Regions from separate parts of the Homo sapiens genome. Here region 1 is linked to region 2. Evidence: promoter capture Hi-C in 16 types of primary human blood cells and fetal thymus (Javierre and others, 2016). All regions are on one chromosome and are shown on one strand. The core of a region is centred on a gene start or on the middle of the fragment in contact, and the rest is flanking DNA. Distances in the headings are between cores, read along the strand shown.

The links. Contacts are between HindIII fragments. The CHiCAGO score rates a contact against its expected background, and 5 or more counts as called.
Region 1: a contact is called between a fragment that was not itself captured here and the fragment with the promoter of PRKCZ in region 2, in 1 of 17 cell types (naive CD8 T cells). The highest score is 5.8, in naive CD8 T cells.

The regions. Positions count from the first base shown.
Region 1 is chr1:2,636,661-2,641,156 of GRCh38, forward strand. TTC34 (tetratricopeptide repeat domain 34) reads right to left here. Exons shown (of 9, transcript NM_001242672.3): 9 at 326-4,496. Among named protein-coding and RNA genes, the nearest start is that of MMEL1, 5.9 kb to the left of the region's middle. RefSeq lists a silencer at 1,377-1,577. The HindIII fragment of the contact is 158 bases long and covers 1,268-1,425 here.
Region 2 is chr1:2,047,531-2,051,694 of GRCh38, forward strand. It overlaps PRKCZ (protein kinase C zeta), which reads left to right and starts at 2,881. Exons shown (of 18, transcript NM_002744.6): 1 at 2,881-3,171. The coding sequence starts at 3,101. PRKCZ-DT (PRKCZ divergent transcript) reads right to left here and starts at 2,540. Exons shown (of 3, transcript NR_135509.1): 1 at 2,338-2,540; 2 at 2,068-2,136; 3 at 1,671-1,938. RefSeq lists an enhancer at 1-523 and a silencer at 2,459-3,068. The HindIII fragment of the contact is 10,768 bases long and covers 1,755-4,164 here.

The DNA of each region.
Region 1 (4,496 bases), core at 97-2,596, 590 kb after region 2:
ATACATAAATTCATACTAGGAGGGGGTCCCCAGAGACAGGCCCTCAAAGTGACACAGTCAGGTACCTCTTTGGTCACTTTGCCAGCCAGGTACCTCTGGCTGCTGACACCCCCCCTCCCCAGGCCTCTCTTGGCCATGCTACCTGCCGCAGGAGGTGGCCCACCCACTCAGCCTGCCTGGGCCACACCTGGCTGTTCACCAGCTCAGCCTGTGGCTGGGCTGGGCATGTTCCAGCCTGCTTGTGTTATAGCTTGTACCCATGTATGGCAGTTCCCAAGTTCTTGTCCCGTGTCCAAGAAGAATGAGGAGATGCTGCCAATCGAAGTGTGAGAAGGGCAGAGAAGAATTTTATTGAGAGACGGAACAGCTCTCAGCAGAGAGGGGATGCACGGGTGGTTCCCGACCTGAAGTCAGGTGGTTTCTCTCCTAGTGTGGCTGGGTCCGGGGCATTTATGGGCTCAGAATGGGGGAGTGCATGCTGATTGGCTTCTGATTATGCAAAAAAGGCTTAAACAAAGGTACCACTCAAAGGTGGGCATGCCAGTGTAGAAAATGAATTAGGAAAAGATAGGTACATGTAAAATAGGTGAAGGGTGGGGATCAATCAGAGGAAAGCAGCCAAATGGGAAGATGGGTTCTCAATCCAGGCTGAGGATTTAATTTGTAGCTTGGCTTTCAGGCTTTAAACTGTCTTTGGCTCGGAGGTGGGGTTTCACTGGGAACCTGTCCCTGTCTGCCTAGGATTTGTCTGCCTCCTGTCACTATCAAAAGGTGGGGTCCGGGGATTAGGTTAGTGTGGTTGTTGCTTGGGCTGGGCTGCAGGCCGATCTCCTGGCCAGTGGGAAGGGGAGGCTGTTGGCCCACAGTGTTGTTGGGGGAGCTTCACAGTTAACCAAGCCATCCCCCATGCTGGCTGTGAGGCACCAGCAGAATTGAGGGCCTCGGGAACCCACGTGCTGCTGTGTGAGGCTGTCACGGCCACGAGGATGACCACAACCACGAGGGCTGTGGGGGGTCCCCTGAGTGTCCAGCAGCACTAACAGGAAGGAACCACACGTTCAGGTCTCTAAACTCAGTTTAAGTCATAGACAGAGAATCAGGACTGCCATGGCCATGGAAGAGTCCCTTGTTCCTGAGAGCCTCGGGGCTGCTGCTGCTACAACTCGGATGCACAGTTTAACTCTGAGTTGTGTGACTGCTGTGTGGCTCACACTCACAGCCTCACTACTGAAACGTGGGCACTGAGTGGGAAGGAACTGGATGCTGAAGCTTGGCATGGGGATGTCTGGTTGGGCTCAGATGAAGCTGAGAATTGTGAACCCCCTGGTTCTCTGAGCCTCTCCTTCCAGGGGAAGCAGCTTGTCCTCCAAGATCTGAGAGTAGCCTTTATTTATTTTTTTTGTTCTGCTTGAAAATGCTGTGATAAGCTTACCTGGCCAGGTGCCTAGAAATGATGCTCATTTTATTTAACCACCATAGCCACCCTGTTGCCTCTAGAACCTCAGTGTACTCCCAGGGAGGGGAAGGGTCAAGTACAAAGCCTGACTCAGGAAGGAACCACTTTCACACCAAAATGCTCGTAAGATGTTACAAATTCACACACGGAGACCTGGGAACCGTGTGGGAATGGAGGGTAGGGTATTAATGCAGCTGGACCGGCTTGGCTTTATTGATGCAGGTACACTTACTAGAGATTCTGAATTTAATGCGCTAGCTCACATTAGCTGCTGGAAATGACTCTACCAGTTTACTTGGTTGAATGAAATCTGGATTTGCTGGCGGTCTACAGTTAATGAAGGGGAGATGCTGGAATGTCCCTGGTGTAACGTCGAGGCAGGAATCGTGCAAAGCAAGGGCCACCCTCCGTCCCAGCCTGATTTCTCTCCACCTCCAGCTGAGCACTGAGGAAGACGCAGGCCGGGGACTGCCCAGGGAAGTGGTGGATCTGCAGACAGCGTGAGCTCCTGGAGCGTCAGGACCCAGAGCAGCTGTGGACATGCCCCTCCAGGCGGGACACCCAGGCCTCAGGGACGAGTGCGTCCATGCCTTAAGGGCTGCTGGTTGTGGGTGTCTGCTTGGTCCTGGAGAAACTACCTCAGGAAAAGCCAGGGCTGGACCCCAGCAGGGATGGGATAAGGGGAACCGAGACTCACCCACTGTGCTCAGGGCAGAGGTGGTGGGCCGCGGGAACGGGCATGTCTTTGTCTATCTGGACTGCCCCAACAGAATAGCAGAGACAGGTGGTTCATCAACAGATACTTATTTCTCACAGTTCTGGAGGCTGGAAGCCCAAGATGAAGGTGCCAGCTCGCTCTCTAGTGAGGATCCCTTCCTGGTTCACAGACAGCTTCTCACTGGGTCTCCACATGGTGGAGGGGCTTGGGAGAACTCTGGGGTCTCTTTTATAAGGACACTAATCCCACTCATGAGGTTCCACCCCTGGTCATCTCCCAAAAGCCCCACTTCTGATACCATAACCTTGGGGGTTAGGATCGCAACACATAAAGTTTGGGGGAATGCAGACATTCAGAGCCCAGCAAGGAGCCAGGCCAAAGGCTGATGAGAGATACCTGCTGGGTGAGCTGGTGGTAGAGGGGGCAGCCCCCTGGTGGGGGAGAAACACAGCGATCCTGAGGTCCAGGAGGAGCCTCAGCGGGGCTGGCATCTACACTCAGCCTTGCACGGATGGATGGGGCAGGACATCCCAGGCGAGGAGGACGGTAGGAGCAGGGAACGTGGTGGGGAAGGGCACCCCTAGGGGACGCCTCCCCACTGCCTCCACCTGGCCCCGACATTGGAGCAGGCCCTTCTGCTGTGACCAGGCTCTCTGGACCAGCCCTTGCCTCCTCTGCCTCAGTGCCGACTGGCCCACCTGACCCGAGGAACTTGCGTGTCCCTGAACTTAGCTCTTGGGCTGCTGACAGGTGTTTGTTGAGTCCTTGAGCACACGGGTGAAGACAGGGAGGGAAGGGTGGATGGGGAGCTGGCAGGCGGAAGATGGATCAAATTGGTGCCTGCGCTGGGGAACCCCGGAAGAGGGGGACTGCGTGAAGATTCCGAGCGGGGAAGGCGAGGAGCGGGGCTGAAGGTCCCTGTCAGGGCCCTCTCCCACTGTGGGCTGCCCATCCCCGAGGTACTCAAGGTGGGAGGCACTGACCCTTTACCCAGACCCCTGTGGCCAGAGACACATAGGCGGTGCCAGCTGATGAAGGTGCATGGGGGTTGAGGAGTGGGTGAGGCCTGAGGAGGAGGGGGGCTACCCAGCCCTGCACCTGCCGCCTGGGGGCCCCACTTCCATGCAGGGCGAGGAATAGGGCCCCTCCCTGCCTGACCCCCTGGACTGGGGTTCGTCAGATGATCCCAGAAGCGAAGTGGGTGGAGAGGCAGGGGGTCTATCTGTGGGTTCAAGACCATGGAAGGAAGCGGCAGAGAAGGGGACAGAAATGGGACAAATGCAAGTGCCCAGGAGGAGAGAGAAGCCAGGAGGGGGGGTCGTGGCCCTGTCTCCCCAGGGTGAAGTCAGGCAGGGCTTGGGGGCACGTTTTGCACCGAGTCAGCTCACCCAGCATGTCTCTCGCCCATGGCCATGAGAGAAAGCCCCGGGCTGAGGCCTCAGTCTGTGACACTCACAGTGATGGGCAAAGGCTGGCTGCCTCTGCCCCACCCAGAAGTCCCCAAGCTCACTGGCAGCTGCAAGGCCTGGGGACATTTAACGCACGTATAAGAACAAGCTGTTCTCTCGCTCTGTGGAAGCACTGATACCTCCCAGCAGCTTCGGGAGACAGGTCTGGTGGGAGCCTGGGGACTGTGCTCATCAGGGCCCCTCGGTGGTCCCTCTGCTTGGAAGGGAGGGGCCTGTGGAGGAGGGAGGAAGTTTACCCCCAGCACACTGGATTCTCGATGAAGGGCCCCCATGAAAGCACCCTGAAAGGTCAGCTTGGGGTATGGGCTGGCTGGGCCCATTTGGGAGCTCTGTCTCTGGAGAGGGCTCAGGCTCTACTGGAGGCTGGCCCAAGGCTCAGGGTCCAAGCAAAACGCAGCTTCACACCCAGGGAGGGGCTTCTGGGGCTGGTACCATCTCCCCAAGGGCCCCAGGAGTCTGGCCTCAAACCTGTCCAACCTGTAGGATCCCAGGCCAGGGACGAGACCTGGGGCTGCTTCTTCAAGGTCTGAGCCCCAGGTGTGGGCCAAGAGGGCCCCAACTGCAGGGACCAGGTTGCTGGTGGTAGAAGGGACTGTGAAGCTTCTAGGATGGTCCCTTCATGCAAGTAGGAAGCTGTCCCCTGTCCTTCCCAAGGCAGAGGTGTGAGGCTGGCTGTCCAACACTGACTCATGCTGGGGCAGGGAAGCGGGGTGTGGGGAGGGCAGGGAAGGGGGGTGTGGGGAGGGCTGGGAAGGGAGGTATGGGGAGGGCTGGGAAGGGAGGTATGGGGAGGGCTGGGAAGGTGGTGTGGGGAGGGCTGGGAAGGGGGAGGGCTGGGAAGGGGTGTGTGGGG
Region 2 (4,164 bases), core at 1,631-4,130:
TGCCTCCTGGAGGGGAGGCCAGAGCAGGTACTGGGGGAGGTTTTGGGGACGTTTTGGGCAGCCCCTGTGCCCGCAGTCCTCTGCTAGAGCCTTTCGGAACCTGTGTCTGTCCCGACCCCCCCTCCACCGGCGGCATCAGGGCTGAACAAAGTCTGACACTGGGGTTGACCATCCACTGACGTTGCCCTCTCCCTCCCAACCCCAGAGAGAATAGAGCCCCGCCCCCCACCTTCCCTCGCTGGGACTGGGGCACTGCCACGGCCCTGGGACTGGCTTCCAGGACGGAGGCTCCCGCCTGGCAGCACAGATCTCCCCAGGGAGGCCAGTGCCGAGGGCCTGACCCAGCAGGGGCGTCCTTGGTTAGAAAGGGTCCTCCGGGGCCTTGGGTGGGGCAGGCCCAGGGAGAGATGTCCAGTGACAGGGAAGGACACAACCGAGGGTCCGTCCTGCCTGCTGTGGGCAGTGGTATCAAGGACCGGGCCTTGCTGCCTCCTTGGATCAGAACGCCAGCCAGGAAGTCCTGTGGGTGCCCAGTGGCCCCTTCCAGGCACCGCCCCACTAAGGTGAAACCCTGCTCTTTCCTGCCCATCAGGAAGCGCCCAGGCCATGTTGCCAGGCCAGACTCCAGACAAGGCCACAGCCCTGGCCATGGGGCCTGGAGTGGGGGAGCTGGGCCGACGGGTGCCTGAATCCAGGGCTGCTGCAGGTGCAGGTTCCCACTCATCACTGTACCCTGCCAGGCTGCCCCCTCACCCTCTACTCTCTGCCCCCCTTCATGCCCAGCTGATGGGCATGGGGCTTTGTGCCTGTGCGAGGGATAGAGGGGGTTGCCCCATGGAGATGGGGGTGAGGAGTAGATTGCTGAAATGGGCATTAGGTATGCTAGAGACTTCAAGGAAGTGTGGGTGCCAGTCCAGCAGATCTCTGCAGGCAGGTGCTCCTGGAAGAGGGAGTGGCTGTGCAAAGAGGGAGTGGCCGTGCAAAGACGGAGGCCGGGGCAGCAAAGAGGCCTCGAGGCCGGGGCAGAGGAGCTGGCCTTCCCTCCAGGAGTGATGGGAACCACTGGGGGGACTTCGATGACCCAGAAAGATGGAGTGGGGGAAGACGTCAGCTGAGAGGCTCATTAGGAGGATGCCTGGGGCTGGGTGAGTGTTGGTTGGGAGCTCAGGGGGCCCATCTGAGCTGGGGATGCAAAGCGGGCCAAAGGCTGAGGCTGGGGCTCCACAGTTTTAAAAGCTGCAGACCAGGAGGGCGAGGGATGGGAGATTTAGGGAGCTGGAACCCGGGGCCAGGGATGTGTGAGCCTTCCCAGGAGGGGTCTGATACCAAAGGCCAAGTTAAGAAAATGTCTGAGGCCGGGCACAGTGGCTCACGCCTGTAATCCCAGCACTTTGGGAAGCCAAGGCAGGTGGATCACCTGAGGTCAGGAGTTCGAGACCAGCCTGGCCAATATGGAAAAACCCCGTCTCTACTAAAAATACAAAAATCAGCTGGGCATGGTGGTGGACACCTGTAATCCCAGCTACTTGGGAGACTGAGGCAGGAGAATGGTTTGAACCCAGGAGGCAGAAGTTGCAGTGAGCCGACATCATGCCATTGCACTCAGCCTGGGCAGCAAGAGCGAAACTCCATCTCAAAAAAAAGAAAAAGAAAGAAAAAAAGAGAAAACGTCTGAGAACCGACGGCTTGTATTTAAAACGTGTGAGTGGGTGGTGGCAGGAGAGGTAGACAGGGAGCAGGGCCGGCTTGGCGGAAGCTTTGCTGTAGAGAGGGGCAGAGATGGCTCGGTGGGTGGAGGGAGGGGCAAACGGTGTTTAAGAAGAAAAAACGACAGCTTCTGCGTAGGAGAGGGGCCTCCTGTCCATCTCCAGGGAGAACATGGGTTCTGTGGCCACAGGTCTCCCCAGGGCCTGGCATCAAGGAGGCGCCAGGCACGACCTGCGGGATGAAAGCACGTGGCTGAAGTCCTGGTGGCTGTGTCTGGGTGAGGGGTGTGAGGGCGTGGCCTGAGCAGGTCCACTCTCAGGGGAGAGGGGCCGAGGCCAGGAACTGGGTCTGGGTGTCCACCTGGTGCCTGGGTGAGGTCCTGCAGGCAGCAGGTCTGGGCTTCAGTGGATGCAGCCAGTAAGGGATGGGCTGATCAGGGAAAACCGTATTTTCAGGGGAGGAGCCCAGGAGGCAGGGAGCTGGGCGGCGGTGGAGGGGCCTGGAGGGCGATTGTCCAGATCAAGCCCCTCGAGTAAGGCCCGAGAGGCTGTGGCTTCAGAAATGAAGGTCATGGGCGACTCGGGCCAATGCCGCGTCCTTGACCTGGGCGAAGTGAGCGGTTGCACTCACGAGTGTGGACGGCCCTTCCCTACAGGGGACCTTGGATTCGCTGGGGGCGGAGTGGGGGCTGGGGCCCAGAGAACCCGAGTCCGGACGCTCCCGTCCGTGACCCTGGCCGGGTTCTCCGCTCCTCGCAGCTTCAGTCCGCAAGTGTGAGATGTCAGGGGACCCCTGGACGGCGGGGCCCTCGGGCTGGCAGCGCGCGCCGCAGGAGTTTCGATTCGGAGGGTCTGGGCGAAGGCCGAGAACTCGCGTTTCCAGCGAGTTCCCGGGGGCGCCGCTCCGTCCCAGAGGCCGGGGCCCCTCCGGTTGCCGGGCAGAGCCGCGCCGCGCGCGGTCCCATTGGCGCAGGTGCGCCGCGCCCCGCCCAACAGGTAGCCCCGCCCGACAGGTAGCCCCGCCCGCGCCTCGCCATTGGGCCGCGGCCGGGTGTCCCCCGAGGATTGGCCCAGGTGGCGGCCCCGCCTCGCCCTCATTGGCCGCAGGTGCCACCGCCCGCCCCGGGACCGCCCGCCCCGCGGATTGGCCGCTGGCTCCACCTCGGTCCGCCATGTTCGGACACCGCCCCCCGCCCCCGCCGGACGGTCCCGCCCCGCGCGCCCCCCGCTCCCGCCCCGCGCGCCGCCGGAGTTCCGCGGAGTTGACCGGGTCGGCGCCGTCGGTCCTGAGCGCTGCCTTCCGCGTTCCGCCGCGGCCCCACCTGGAGCCCCCGCCCCGCGCCATGGCCGGAGCTCCCGGGGCGCAGCGCTGACGGCGGCGGGGGGAGCGCGCCATGCCCAGCAGGACCGGCCCCAAGATGGAAGGGAGCGGCGGCCGCGTCCGCCTCAAGGCGCATTACGGGGGGTGAGCGGCGGAGAGGGCGGGGAGCGGCGCGGGTGAGGCAGGGAGGGCGGGGAGGGCTCAGCCGTCGGGGCTCCTGCGCGAGAGGGAGAGAGGGAAGGGGCGGCGAGGTCGCTGCGGGCCCGGGGCTGTCGCGGGAGGTCCTCGGTCCCCGCCCGTGAGCGTCACCCGCGGACACGTCGTGGACAGCGCGGGCTCCTTCCCCGGGACCGGGTTTCCCTGGGGTCGGCCCCGCGCCGCGAGCTCCTCGGCCCGGTCATTGTGGTAGACGTTTTCGCTGGAAAGTTGGGCGGGGACGTTCCGGCCGCAAACCTGTAAGGACTGAAAGTTTTCATCAAGTTGTGAAAACTCCTGGCGGGTTTCTTAAAATCAGCGTTTCCTAAACGTTCTCCACGTTTACCCGGTCGGGGGTCTCGCTTTAGCCAAAATCCGGAGACCCGGGGCGCGGGCGCTGTGGCTCCAATGCAGCCCCCGGCAGGGCTCGGGGCGGTCGGGCGGGGACAGGGGTTTCTGGAGGAGACGGTGGGGCCGAGACTGACCCTGGGGTTTGCGTCGCACCCGCCCCCCGGAGGCCCTTGCCTGGCTGTGGGAGGGGGCGCGGTCAGGTGCTGGAGCGGAGGGGTCCTGGACTCTTGGCCGCCGCCTCGGGGCAGCGCTGCTGGGGGTGGCGGGGGCTGCACCAGGTGGCCGGGCTCACAGGCACAGCGGAGGGGTCGCTGCCCCCCGAAGTGTGGGCGGTGGGGAGGGGAGGACCCGTGGGTTTGTTCTTCCACCTGTGCGCGTCTCCAGGAGCCCCGAACTGGGACCTCCGCTCCCGCGAGGGTGGCTGCTGCTGCAGAGAGGGAGGGGAGCAGAATGCGGGCTCCGGACTTGCACTGGCTGGTCCTTGGGATCTCGAAAAGCTGCTCCTGCCCCGGTGCGTCCTCAGCTACAGCGTGGGCAACCTGAGCCCCAGAGGCAGGGACGGCCGGCAGGGTTAGGCGGGTGACAACTTCC